4 separate regions of the Homo sapiens genome follow, and all the other regions are linked to region 1. Evidence: promoter capture Hi-C in human tissues and cell types (Jung and others, 2019). All regions are on one chromosome and are shown on one strand. The core of a region is centred on a gene start or on the middle of the fragment in contact, and the rest is flanking DNA. Distances in the headings are between cores, read along the strand shown.

Region 1 (3,365 bases), core at 366-2,865:
TTTAAATCAAAACTAAAACTTTTCCAGCTATGCTCAAAGGATACATTTCTTTTATGTAAGTACTGCATCAGAAGTAGTATTCCTTTTAAAAGGGGAAAATTGCAAATTAGTCTCTTCAGGGATGTCTGTAAGTTTAAAGCTATGTCAATAGACTTACAGTCTGATCTCAGTATTGTAAAGGTTAGAGTATGAACTCTATTGAAAACATATGAATGTTTTCAGCATCTGCATTTTTAACTTGTTTCAGAAGCCCATGGATATAGTAGTAGTATAAACTTTGGGAAAATACTTATTCAGGAGTCTGCAGATGGCATAAGAATAAGACACCTATAATTTACTAACGGTTTTAACATTTTGACCCTTTTGCTATCCACTGTATTTTAAATTGATTTCTTTGTATTTGGTAAAACTTAAAGAAGCTTTGCTTTTTCTCAGGAAAATCTGAATTGATTGAAGGAAAAAAAATTAACAGTTTTTCTCACTTAAACACAGAAATGTTATATTTACTTGGATATTTAGTTTTAAAAATTGGCTAAAGGCATGCAGGGGCCTTCTGCGCCTGGTACATCTTAGTTATGTACGTATTTATCCAGAAATTTTAAGTAGATTTTGACAGGTGACTTCAACAAAACCCCATAGTTTTAGTCTACACATTTTTTAATAAGTACATGATTTGTTCTTGAAGTCTTCAAGACTAGAACCAGAATGCTAAGTATTACCTTATGTGGAAGAGGTACAATTACAAAGTCAATAATGGAAATATAAAAAGTGGCCCATTTCAGGAAGTTATCTATAACTTAAACATCAAGTAGTAAGTTTAAAATTGTGTACACTTGTATATCATCAATAAACAGGTCTGTGAAATTTTTCTGTAGTATAACTTTTATGAAATTTATCAGTAACAAGTATTACAGTTTGTTGATTTTTATATGTAATTTGTTTTAATCTATATTGTTTGGGGGAACAAAAGATATCTACATTGAAAAAACTGTGGCATATGTGAGTTAGAATGAATAAAATTATAATAAAATTTCATGTGGAGAAAAATAACTTTATTGATATTTAAGGTATTCCATCACAGAAGGCAGCTGCATTCCTTTAAGCGGGTGTGCTTTTTAGCATAGAAATTTTTCAAGTTTTAAATCACATTATCTTTTTTTTTTCTGATCAATGAGTTCTCTCCCTCCACCCTAACACATCACATATGCACACATTTTAATGTTCAATAAGTGCTTGTTGAATGACTGAACGTTAAGAATGGATTTCTCAGTGTTGTAAAACAGAGAGAGACCTGAATTTTGAGTATGAGTGGTATTGGAATATATGGGGAAAACTCCAGATTTGTGCATATAATAAACTGATAGCATTAAGTAGTATGAGTGTTACAACTTAGGTGTATCTTCTGTGTTTAACCATCTATTTTGTGTGACGAATGGTGATTTATCAATTTCTTCAAATGAAAGCTTTAAATGAATTTTTCTAAAGGTGACTTTCTCAAGGATAGAGCTTTGGATTTTAAAGATGATGGATAAACTAAAGAGAGTGAATTTTATTTTAGAGGTTATCTTTATTTTAGGAATTTTAAAAATATATTATAGAAAAGGCTGGAAATTTATGCCTATGGGAGACAATTTTATTTCTCTTGTTTCAATAATAGCAATTAAAAAACAAGACATTAACTGTCAGTAATCTATTATGGTGAGGGTTATATGAATATATACATGTGTTAAAATGTATGGAACTATACACCAAAAAAGTCAAGTTTACTATATGATACCGTAGAAAATAAAATTTTTAAAAATCAATGCATTGATATAATGTACAAGAGAAACATATATATTACTGTAAAAATGCTGTATTAGTTTCCTATGGCTGCTGTAACAAAGTATCACAAACTGGATTGGCTTAAAACCACACAAATGTATTGTCTCAGAGTTCTGGAGGCTAGAAATCCAAAATCAAGGTGTTGGCAGTGCTATGCTCCTTCTGCAACCTACAGGGGAATCCTTTGTTGCCTCTTGCTAGCTTCTGGTGGTTTGTTGGCTGTCTTTGGCATTCTTTGACTTGGAGCTGCAAAATTCCAATCTCTGATTTTGTGGTCACGTGGCATTCTCCCTGTGTGTGTCTGTTTTCACATGGCCTTCTTATAAGGACACCGGTCATATTGGATTAGGGGCTCACCCTACTCCAGTATGACCTCATCTCAATCACATACACAACAACCCTATTCCCAAAGTCACATCATGAGGGACTGAGGTTATGTTCTGAGGTATTGGGGGTTAGGACTTCAGCATATTTTTTGGGGGGTGACATAATTCAGCCCATAACAGCTTCTCATACTTGTTTCTTGTTGCATATCTGAGTTTCATGTGAATTTTAAACTTTATTACATTAAGTATGGCTTAAGTTAGGAAATCACCACATTAATTTTATTAGGTAAGCATTATTTAGACTTGCTTGATTCAATTTGCATGATTATTTAATCTTAATACATGTGGAATATTTTTGACAAATAAGTGGTTATTTAAAGGTTAAAATTGTCATTCTTGATAAAAAATGATGACTGTGTGATATAGCACTCATGGTATACATATATGAATGAATAGATTACTGTGGGTTTTTTTTCATGCACACCATTTATAACTCAGCTTTAGAAATGGATAACCTTGAAAGCATATGAACAGTGTTTTAATGTCTGTTTCCAAACCCTAAATTACTATGGTTTACAATTAGTGCTTGATATTAGAAATAGATAATAATTTATTCCAGATAATTTTTATGTGAATTTTTTTACCTTGTGGTTTATTTATAGGCTTATTTCTTTCTAACATAGGCAGCATGCTTCTTGGACACTTTTAGCCTATCATGGAGCTAGTAGACTAAGAAAATCATACTTATTTAAATATTAGCTGTAGTATTATGTGATTATACGCTAAATTACTCTGCGATAGTTTTTGTAATCATATATAGTCAACTGATTAATTTTTGGTTTTCAGTGTAATTGTTCTCCCCCTTAGGATGTATAATGTGGTTTGTCCTAAGTTGGTGCTCAGTAAATGTTTATTGAATGAATGAGTACATTGTCATATCATTTTTTATATTTGTGTAGTATGACATCTCTCTTAATTGATTTATATGTAACTGAAGCCTAAAAGATGTATTGGCATTTGTGGCTCAATTTCTGGATGCTTCTGATTTTTAAAGCATTACATAGATAAAAATTATCCTTGAAGCTTATTATTAACTTGTTCTTGGTTCAGTCATTGAATTAACGTTTAGTCACTTATTACGTGTAAGGCTCAGTAAATAATTGTTTACCTGTTTTTGGTGGAAGTCTTTCTGTAGTACTTTGCATTTTCCTATCT
Region 2 (3,365 bases), core at 539-3,038, 460 kb after region 1:
CAGCCTCAACCTCCCAGGCTAAATCAATCCTCCCACCTCAGCTTCCCGAGTAGCTGGAACCACAGGCGTGAGCCACCACACCCTGATAATTTTTAATTTTTTTGTAGAGACAAGGTCTCAACATTTTTCCCAGGCTGGTCTCGAACTCCTGAGCTCAAGCAATCCTCCAGACCAGGCCTCTCAAAGTGTCGGGATTAGAGGCAAGAGCCACCGCACCCAGCCAATTTTTTTTTTTTTTTTTTTTTGAGACAGATTCTCACTGTCACCCAGGCTGGAGTGCAGCGGCACAGTTTCGGCTCACTGCAACCTCCGCCTCCCAGGTTCAAGCAGTTCTCCTGCCTCAGGCTCCCAAGTAGTTGGGATTACAGGCATGCACTACCACGACTGGCTAATTTTTGTATTTTCAGTAGAGACAGGTTTCGCCATGTTGGCCAGGATGGTCTCGAACTCCTGACATCAGGTGATCTGCCCGTCTCAGCCTCCCAAAGTTCTGGGATTACAGGCGTGAGTGAGAAGAGCACAGCATCAGAAACTAGGCTCTCACAGATTCCACTTCTGCACAGATCCTTTATGTAGGAAGACATTAAATGTGGTAGAGGAATTCTCATAGAACCTACCTCTTTGCCCTTTGTGGCACCTCCTTCTGCCCATTCCACTGAAACACAGGATTTCTCCAAGTTCACAGTCCTTACATTGGCACTGTGAATTAAACCTATAAAGTATGAAAAAACCAGAGTTACCCATCTCTTTCCTGAGAGCTTCACTTTTAGGATTCCACAGAGATTCCCAAAGTGGAGTTAACCTGAAGGAACAGGCAGCTACCTTAAAAAAAAAAAAAAAAAAAACTAAGAGAAACAAATAAATCTCCTGGGCTTCACCTTTAGAATATCCACAGTGAGGTGGGCTGGGGACAGGTTTTTAAACTGAGCTGCATGGGATAAGGATTCACCCCTACTCAAGAGAGCCTACAAAAAAAGAGAGATAGAGCCTACAAAAGAGAACATACAAAAGGTATGTTTGAGCACAGGATTCCCCACAACCCTTAGATGAACTTTTCCTCAACATAGCATTGAGGATCTGGCCCTTTTGGGGTTTTCCTAACTCATTTCTGGCGGTCATATCTGTCCATTTCCCTAATGACACGGGTATCAGACCTGCCAGAACTGCGGTACCTGCTTAAGCAAAAGAGAGAACGACTACAAGCTCCTCAAGCGCAGGGTTCTTGTCTGTCCCGTTTACCTGACATACCGCAACTGCGCAATATTTATTCGAGAGTAAAGGGGCCAGGAGACCGAGGTCCCCATAAGAGCAGGGCATTTTCAGGGGAGAATTTTGGAAGGGAAGTGAATTTAGAAGTCCCAACTTCCCTGGGAGGTCTACCAGCCTTGGAGAAGGTCCGCCCACTCCCAGAGGACTGCGAAAGGGACCACGTACAGCGCAGGGACTCTCACCCCTGTGTAGGCAAGAATGACTGCCAGTGCAGAGACCCGGAGTGAGTGCGTGTGAAAAGGAGGGAGGGAGAGAAAGAGAGTGAAAGCCCATCTGTGTGTCCGGGGACGGGCAGTAATTTCAGTCGTCTCACCGCTCACGAGTCCCCTTGACCTAGGGACCCCGCTCCTCACCATTACTGCGTTGGATCTTGATAGCGAGACCGGGAAACAGGCGGGCCTGAAGCGACGAGTCCATGGCCATTCGGAGAGTCAGCAAGGAAGAGAAACGCGCAATACCAAGAAACCTCAATTTCGCTAACCCTACGAAGTCTTAACGCCGCGTAAACCGCCGCAGTTTAAATCCCGCGCGCAAGCGTCCTTAAAACGTCATTCCGCTGTCCCCGCCCTCGCTTCCGCCAGTCAGCGGCGCCCTGCGGAGCCTTGGGGGAGACGCAGTTCCCAACCATCTTCCTACGCTTGGCACCGCCCATGCGTCTGGCCACACCCCCGAGCGCTGTGCCTTCTGGGAACTTCGCCGCTACGTGGGGTCTGGGGCTCCCATTTCTGGTATTGTCCTCGGTCACCTTGTACTGCGGGGTTCCCGAAAACTGGGAAACTTCAGTATGTATTTGACAATGAGGGCTCTGGGATCCTACAGACATGGGTTCGAATCGTAGCTTCTTCAATTGCAAGTTCAGTGACCTCGAGCAAGTTGGAGACTTGGCCGGGCGCGGTGGCTCACTCCTGTTAATCCCAACACTTAGGAAGGGAGAGGTGGGAGTGATCGCTCGAGATCAGAAGTTCGAGACCAGACAGGGCAACATAGCCAAGACCCTGTTCTCAAAGCAAAACAAAACCACAGATTAGAAACTTGACTTAGTTTTTCTTATTAAATAGTGCAGAAGCATGTTGCCTCATTCAAGGAGTTATGTATAAATTTCCAGAAAGACACTGATTCACCAGATATTTATTGAGTGAAGTCTACCACCTGCTAGGCATGGTACCAGGAAATGGAGATAATGAACTAGACACATAGTTCCTGTCCTCCTTTTTTTTTTTTTCCATTTAACCCTTAGTGGACACAGCACATGTTTCAGAGAGCACGGGGTTGGGGGTAAGGTTATAGATTAACAGCATCCCAAGGCAAAAGAATTTTTCTTAGTACAGAACAAAATGGAGTCTCCTATGTCTACTTCTTTCTACACAGACACAGTAACAATCTGATCTCTCTTTCTTTTCCCCACATTTCCCCCTTTTCTATTCGACAAAACCGCCATCGTCATCATGGCCCGTTCTCAATGAGCTATTGGGTACACCTCCCAGATGGGGTGGCGGCGGGGCAGAGGGGCTCCTCACTTCCCAAATGGGGCAGCCGGGCAGAGGCGCCCCCCCCCCCCACCTCCCAGACAGGGCGGCGGCTGGGAGGGGGCTGCCCCCCACCTCCCAGACGGGGCGGCTGGCCGGTCGGGGGCTTTCCCCCCACCTCCTGGACGGGGCGGCTGCCGGGAGGAGACGCTCCTCATCTCCCGGACGGGGCGGCTGCCGGGCAGAGTGGCTCCTCACTTCTCAGACGGGGCGGCCAGTCAGAGACGATCCTCACCTCCCAGACAGGGTGGCGGCGGGGCAGAGACACTCCTCAGTTCCCAGACGGGGTCGCGGCGGGGCAGAGGCGCTCCCCACATCCCAGACGATGGGCGGCCGGGAAGAGACGCTCCTCACTTCCTAGACCGGGTGGCGGCCGAGCAGAGGCTGCAATCTCGGCACTTTGGGAGGCCAAGGCAGGCGGCTGGGAGGTGGAGGTTGTAGCGAGCCGAGATCACGCCACCGCACTCCAGCCTGGGCAACATTGAGCACTGAGTGAGCGAGACTCCGTCTGCAATCCCGGCACCTCGGGAGGCCAGGGCTGGCAGATCACTCGCGGTCAGGAGCTGGAGA
Region 3 (3,365 bases), core at 519-3,018, 410 kb after region 1:
AAGCCTGTGCTCCTAATCACCTCTCTATGCTTCCTATCTTTAGGAAACTTGCAGAAGAGAACCAGCTCACAGTGTAGGGGGAGGAGCTTCCCAAAACAAGACAGAGGCAGGACCACCACTCTTGGGATTTTTCAGTGTTCACTTACCTCAGCACTGGGAGGGTAAGTAAGCTGCCAATTCTCTTCCACTTTGAGGTTCTATTTCTTTTCTTTTCTTTTTTCTTTTTCTTTTTCTTTTTTGAGACAAAGTTTTGCTCTTGTTGTCCAGGCTGGAGTGCAATGGCATGATCTCGGCTCACCGCAATCTCCACCTCCCAGGTTCAAGCGATTCTTCTGTCTCAGCCTCCGGAGTAGCTGGGATTACAGGCATGTGCCACCATGCTCAGCTAATTTTGTATTTTTAGTAGAGATGGGGTTTCTCCATGTTGGTCAGGCTGATCTCGAACTCCCGACCTCAGGTGATCCGCCTGCCTCGGCCTCCCAAAGTGCTGGGATTACAGGCGTGAGTCACAGTGCCTGGCCTTTTTTTTTTTTTTTTTTTTTGAGACAGAGTCTCTGTCACCCAAGCTGAAGTGCAGTGGCACAATCTCAGCTCACTGCAACCTCTCCCTCCCGGGTTCAAGCGATTCTCCCATTGAGATTCTATTTCTTTTTCTTTTTCTTTTTCTTTCTTTCTTTTCTTTTTTTTTTTTTTTTGATTACCCAGGCTAGAGTGCAGTGGCACGATCTCAACTCGTTGCAACCTGCGCCTCCCCAGGTTCAAGCAATTCTCCTGCCTCAGCCTCCCATGTACCTGCTGGGATTACAAGTTCGTGCCACCACACCCGGCTAATTTTTGTATTTTTAGTAGAGACAGGGTTTCACCATGTTGGGCCAGGCTAGTCTCGAACTCCTGACCTCAAGTGATCCACCTGCGTTGAGGCTGCCCAAAGTGCTAGGATTACAGGTGTGAGCCACCTTGCCTGGCAGCGGAAGTTCTATTTCTATCAGCGCCTTAGGTATTACTTCCTCCAGAGGTGAAAGTGGCCACTCAAATCTTGGGCACCCCTAGGAGTCAGGATGTTGGACACAGGGCTTAACGGAGCCTGCACTCCTAGGCCTGAGCTTCCAGATCTGTGGCTGTCAGCCCCGTGGCATGGATGGAGAAGAGCCTGGCCAAGCCCCCAAGCCCCTGTACAAGAAGACTGGGAGTGTGGCCAGTGCACAGGATGGGTCCTGGAGCTCATGCCTTTGCTAGGCCACTTCCAGCCTTGGAAGTCCATCAGCCCTGGCTTTGAATCCTGCCTCCAACATGTTCTAGCTGTATGGCCGACGGCGGGCAAGTCATTTACCTCTTGGAGCCTCATCTGTGAAATGTGGATGATTGATTCCCTACCTCATGGTGCTGTGATGAGGATTTCTTGAGAGGATGACCTAGTAGTGCCCTTGGCATGGTTCCTGTCACTTAGTCAGTGCTCTGTGATCAGCAGCTGGTATTATTATAACAGTTTATCATGCATCTGTCTTCCCACCTGAAACGTGGGACAATAACCCCTGTCATACTGGCTTGAAGGACATGGTGTCGTCTGTGTGAGCTGTGGGGTCAGTATAGCTGGCATTTCTGCCACTCGAAGGCCAGCCCAACCCTACAGGGGTAAGGAGACACACCCAGTTCCCAGCACCAGGGGAAGCTGGATGACAGCTTCAATCCATCAATGATAGGCCTCAGTCCAGCCTAACTTTATGGACTGCAGAGGTACTTAAGTCTGTGGGGGTTGAAGTCTAGCCCAGTTCATCTTCCACACGGGCTGCTGCCCAGAGCAGGTAGGCAGGTATGGGATGGGGGTGAGAGTGCCCTGGGCCCTGGTAGTTCTAGTTAATCAGCTTCCAAAGCAAGGCCCCAAGGAATAGCAGTGGATTTGGGCTGGAGCTGCGTCTCTTGTCCGCAGCAGTTCAGGATCTGGTTATCCCTAGCCCTGCAGGCTGAAGAGGAGCTTGAGGAAACCTCATGCATGAAGGGACACAGATCTCAGTTCTACCTTGTCCAACTCTAGCCTGGCTTTGCCCATGTACTGCTCAGTTCTGCAGGGGGTGGGGTGTACTTTTCTGCTCTGCAGGCTCCTACCCCCTTGTCCACTGACGCAGGGTGAAGGCTGGGGTGTGTGAGACCAGAGTGGAAGGGAGGTTGTCTGGAGAACTAAACGACAGCCCTGGGGGCAACTCTTGTGACCTCCTGCCCCAGGCTCCCAGCACCATGACGGTTTCATACACTCTCAAAGTGGCGGAGGCCCGCTTCGGAGGTTTCTCTGGCCTGCTTCTCCGCTGGAGGGGAAGCATCTACAAGCTCCTCTACAAGGAATTCCTCCTCTTTGGGGCCTTGTACGCTGTGCTTAGCATCACCTACCGGTAAGGGCAGGGTCTTAGAGCTGGCGCAAGTGGGGAGACTGGGCCACCCACCTCCCTCTAACCCAAGCCTACACCTGCCTTCCCCAGGCTGCTGCTGACCCAGGAGCAGAGGTACGTGTATGCTCAGGTGGCCCGGTACTGCAACCGCTCAGCAGACCTCATTCCCTTGTCCTTTGTATTGGGTAAGGCTCCCTTCTAGTTTTCCCTGTGTCCCCCTTACTGTGTTCCCTGACCTCTGGGTTGGGTTGACAGCTCCGAGGGTCAGAATTACCCAACAGATGGTGTGGTGACACACCTGCAGTCTCAGCTACTCGAGAGGCTGAGGTGAGAGGATCGCTTGAGCCCAGGAGTTCCAGTCCAGCCTGGGCAATGTAGCGAGACTCTGCTAAAAAAAAAAAAAAAAAAAAAAAGAATTACTCAACACGGTGGCAGAGCCTTCCTGGTCAGCCAGAGCAGGCCCAGCAGGCACAGGAGCTGGGTGCTGGGTCCAGGACTTCCAGAGGGCAGGGCCCTATCACTTGCCGGACCCTCACTTCCAGCAAGGCACAAGACACCTGCTGGCCTCACAAGCCCACCCTGGGCACTGCAGGGGAGCTGGACAGAGGTGACAACCCCTTCCCCACCCTCCTGGGAAGCAGTCTCCTGGCTTTGAATCCCCACTTTCCCTCTGCTGAAGGAAGTTTGCCCTCCTCCCTCCTCCTGGCCTCGCACAGCAGGGCACTGGAGCTGAATGTTTCCTTCCCCCTGCCACGATTCAACTGGCCTGGACCAGGCCCTTTGCTGGGGGAGGTGAGGCGCTCCGACCCCCAGGCTCTCCACTCTCCCTTCCTACTCCCTCTATCACGGCGGCCAAGCAGGTTTCTATGTGACTCTCGTGGTGAACCGCTGGTGGTCCCAGTACACAAGCATCCCGCTGCCAGACCAGCTGATGTGCGTCATCTCGGCTAGCGTGCACGGCGTGGACCAGCGGGGCCGCCTGCT
Region 4 (3,365 bases), core at 523-3,022, 290 kb before region 1:
TGGCTTTAGCCTCCCAAGTAGCTAGGACCACAGGTACATGCCACCATTTTGGGCTCATTTTTTTTTTTTTTTCTGTACAGACAGGGTCTCGCTATGTTGCCCAGGCTGGTCTCAAACTCCTGGCTTCAAGTGATCCACCTTGGCCTCCCAAAGTGCTGAGATTACAGAAGTGAATCACTGTGTCTGGCCATATTTTTTTTTTTTTTTTTTTTTTGAGACGGAGACTTGCTGTGTCGCCCAGGCTGGAGTGCAGTGGTGCGATCTTGGCTCACTGCAACTTCTGCTTCCCGGGCTCAAGCGATTCTCTTGCCTCAGCCTCCTGAGTAGCTGGGACTACAGGCACGCGCCAATACACCCAGCTAATTTTTCTATTTTTAGTAGAGACGAGGTTTCACCATGTTTGCCAGGATGGTCTCGATCTTCTGACTTCGTGATCCCCCTGCCTCGGCCTCCCAAAGTGGTGGGATTACAGGCGTGATCCACTGCTCCCGGCCCTGGCCATATTTCTTAAACTTTATGGCCACCAGGAATGCATACCACTTATACTCTTCCAGGAGGATGAAAGTCTTAAGATGTCTGAAAAGGGGTCTCTAACCCCTGGGAGTGCTAATACAGTAAGGCCCATACTGCTTGCTCTTGCCCTCCTCCTGTTCTAGTCTCTTCAGTCATGAGATTATGAGCTCCTGATGTCCAGGCACATGCAAAAAGTGAAGAAATATGTGCCTTGAACAGCTGGGCAGAATTCTTAGCTGGGAGCGGTGGCTCACGCCTGTAATCCCGGCACTTTCGTAGGCCAACGTGGGCCGATCACTTGAGTCCAGGAGTTACAGACCAGCCTGGGCAACATGGTAAACCCCGTCTCTACAAAATATACAAAAAATTAGTCAGGCATGCTGGCGTGTGCCTGTAGTCCCAGCTATCCGGGGAGGCTGAGTTGGGAGGATCATCTTAATCCAGGAGTTTGAGGCTGCAAGTGAGCCATGATCGCTCCATTGCACTCCATCATCCTGGGCGACAGAGTGAGACCCTTCTAAAAAAAAAACAACCAACAAAAACAACAAAAAATCCCAACTTATTCCCCACCAGCTTTCTTTCAAAATCTGTTTTCAAGCTAGCTGAAGTGTTACCTCCTCTAAGCTTTCACTTAACCGAATCTCATAGTCATGATTAATTGCTTCCCTAGCATTTTGTTTAGCTCTACTGATTGCTCTTACTATTTCAAGTCGGTATTATTGATATATTTTTTCCTCCTCACTATACTGAAATCCTGCAGGACGCAGCATTCTTACCGCTTTTCCTTACTCAGCTATACCTTGACCAACCCGAAAGCCGCGCCAGTCTAGTCCATTTTCTATTGGCTTTATCAATTACCAATCATTTCTGTGTTTAACATTTTTATTGGTCCATCTTGTGTTTACTGCCCCGCCCTCTAAGAGGCTCCTGGACTTGGGTTTCCCCCAGGTGTATTCCCTCCTCCTCGGTTCCGCCTTTCCCACACACTGCTTCTTCTGTTTTTACCTCGACTTCCTTCCTATTGGTTCCCTTCGTCCTCCGGAGTTGGCACCTACGGCTGTTGATTGGCTTTTCTGGACGCCCATTGTGCCCACCCTCATACCACGTGGCATTCCTAGCGCTAATTGGGCAATTCCACTACCTCGTTTATCAGGAGTTGACGGTTGACTGGCTACTCTGAGGGAGGGCTTGAGGGAGGGGCGTGGCCAGCCGAGACCCCGCCCCCAACCCCCCTGCTGGGCCGGGTAGGCGTTTCAGTCTTTCGCGGCCCGGGAGCTCAGCAGAGCTACCAGCTGCCCTGTTGGCTTCGCTGGTCGGATCGTCCTCCTGGCCCCGCCAAACAGGCGGGGGGAGCGGCCCCGACTGTGGGGCCATGGCAGTAGTCTCCTCGTTCGCCGCCGCCGCTAGCCTAGCTGAGTCGCCGGCTTCTGCGCTAGGGGCTCCCACCGCCTCCGCAGGCTAAGGAGCCGCTGCCACCAACGAGCTGTGAGGGTTACTATGCTCCCTCTTTGCCGCCGTCTCCTCCTCTTGCCCGCGCAGGCACCCCTCTGGCTGCTCAGTCCTGCCTCAGGTAACGTGAAAAGAGGACGGGGGTCACAAACCCGGGCATCCTGCCTGGCCCGCGCGCGCTGCCGCTCCACCTCCTCTGCCCCGGAGCAGAGGCGCCTGCGTCCCTCCGCACCCGACGGGACCCCTCGGCTTCCCAGAGGTCCCCCTCTCAGCGGCGGCGGACGCTCCCTTCCTGGCCGCTTTCCCCTTTCCTTCTCACTTCCCTCAGGCTCCCCGCCACGTCTGCTCCCCCTTAGAACCTGGGAACCCATTAGAAGTTACCTCGCTCGCATTAGGGATCTTTCGTTTTCTCGGAAAACTCTTGTTTCAGAGACTTCCAGCTCCCCACTGAGCGCCTCCCTGCTCGCATACCCGCTCCTGCCTCAGAGATCTGGGTTCCTTCACTTGACTTCCCTCCGATACACTCTTCCCTCGAAAACGTTCACCTCTACCCAGGAAAACAATTCCCTCCCCTCAGACCCTACTGCCTTCCCCCTCTTCTTTCCTCGCTTGTCATCGTCTCCCTTCCTTTCCCCTCTCTGCTTTTTACTCTTCGCTGTGAAGAGTGGACTAAGCCAGTGTTCAGATTTCGCTACAAGCGAAATCCAGGTTTGCGTAATTTAAAAGTCTTTAAATTGTATACCTCTGAGAAGAACTTGCTGAGGAATTTGGACTTCATGCTGCATGCATGGGGAGCCGTTGAAGGTTTTGTAAGCAGGAGCTTGGTATGATTGCATTATCTTTGGTGAAAATATAGAGGAAGGATTGAAAGTGAAGACCGTGGAGGCGGAAAGGCCAGGTAGGCAGAAAACGAGTGTGCTCATCCAGGCGGGAGGGAATGGCCCGAAATTCCAAGAGGTTTCAAAATAAAGTTGAGAAGAATAGTAGAAAGTTTCTGACTTGGCTGATGGTGTGAATCGGTAGTGTTAATTGAAATAGGGAACATAGTCTCTGGTTATACCACCCTCAACGCTCCTGATCTCATCTGAAATAGGGAGCATAAAAAAGCAATTTTGAGAGAAGGTAATAAATTTGGTTTTGAACAAGTTAAGTTTCAGGGTTTGTTTGTTAGTTTTTGTTTTTTTTGACGGAGTCTCATTCTGTCACCCAGGCTGGAGTGCAGTGGCACGATCTCAGCTCACTGCCACCTCCTCCTCCCAGGTACAAGCGATTCTCCTGCCTCAGACTACCGAGTAGCTGGGATTACAGGCATGCGCCACCACGTCCGGCTAATTTTTGTACTTTTAGTAGAGACGGGGTTTCCCCACGTTGGCCAGGCTGGTTTCGAACGTCTGACCTCAGTC

What was found. Contacts are between HindIII fragments. The study calls those that stand out against the background at their distance.
Region 2: the fragment with the promoter of KIF2C here is called in contact with a fragment that was not itself captured in region 1 in 1 of the 25 tissues and cell types used here (dorsolateral prefrontal cortex).
Region 3: the fragment with the promoter of BEST4 here is called in contact with a fragment that was not itself captured in region 1 in 1 of the 25 tissues and cell types used here (hippocampus).
Region 4: the fragment with the promoter of TESK2 here is called in contact with a fragment that was not itself captured in region 1 in 1 of the 25 tissues and cell types used here (heart right ventricle).

What each region holds. Positions count from the first base shown.
Region 1 is chr1:45,199,833-45,203,197 of GRCh38, reverse strand. All of the region lies in intron 1 of ZSWIM5 (zinc finger SWIM-type containing 5), which reads left to right. Among named protein-coding and RNA genes, the nearest start is that of ZSWIM5, 5.1 kb to the left of the region's middle. The HindIII fragment of the contact is 4,650 bases long and covers 1-3,365 here.
Region 2 is chr1:44,738,260-44,741,624 of GRCh38, reverse strand. It overlaps KIF2C (kinesin family member 2C), which reads right to left and starts at 1,788. Exons shown (of 21, transcript NM_006845.4): 1 at 1,623-1,788; 2 at 618-712. The coding sequence starts at 1,692. RefSeq lists an enhancer at 1,968-2,137. The HindIII fragment of the contact is 13,379 bases long and covers 1-3,365 here.
Region 3 is chr1:44,786,573-44,789,937 of GRCh38, reverse strand. BEST4 (bestrophin 4) reads left to right here and starts at 1,768. Exons shown (of 9, transcript NM_153274.3): 1 at 1,768-2,384; 2 at 2,472-2,566; 3 at 3,242-3,365. The coding sequence starts at 2,233. RefSeq lists enhancers at 2,540-3,225, 3,227-3,316, 3,226-3,365. The HindIII fragment of the contact is 9,775 bases long and covers 1-3,365 here.
Region 4 is chr1:45,489,570-45,492,934 of GRCh38, reverse strand. TESK2 (testis associated actin remodelling kinase 2) reads left to right here and starts at 1,772. Exons shown (of 11, transcript NM_007170.3): 1 at 1,772-2,083. RefSeq lists enhancers at 1,484-1,778, 2,065-2,114 and a silencer at 1,615-1,834. The HindIII fragment of the contact is 6,056 bases long and covers 1-2,316 here.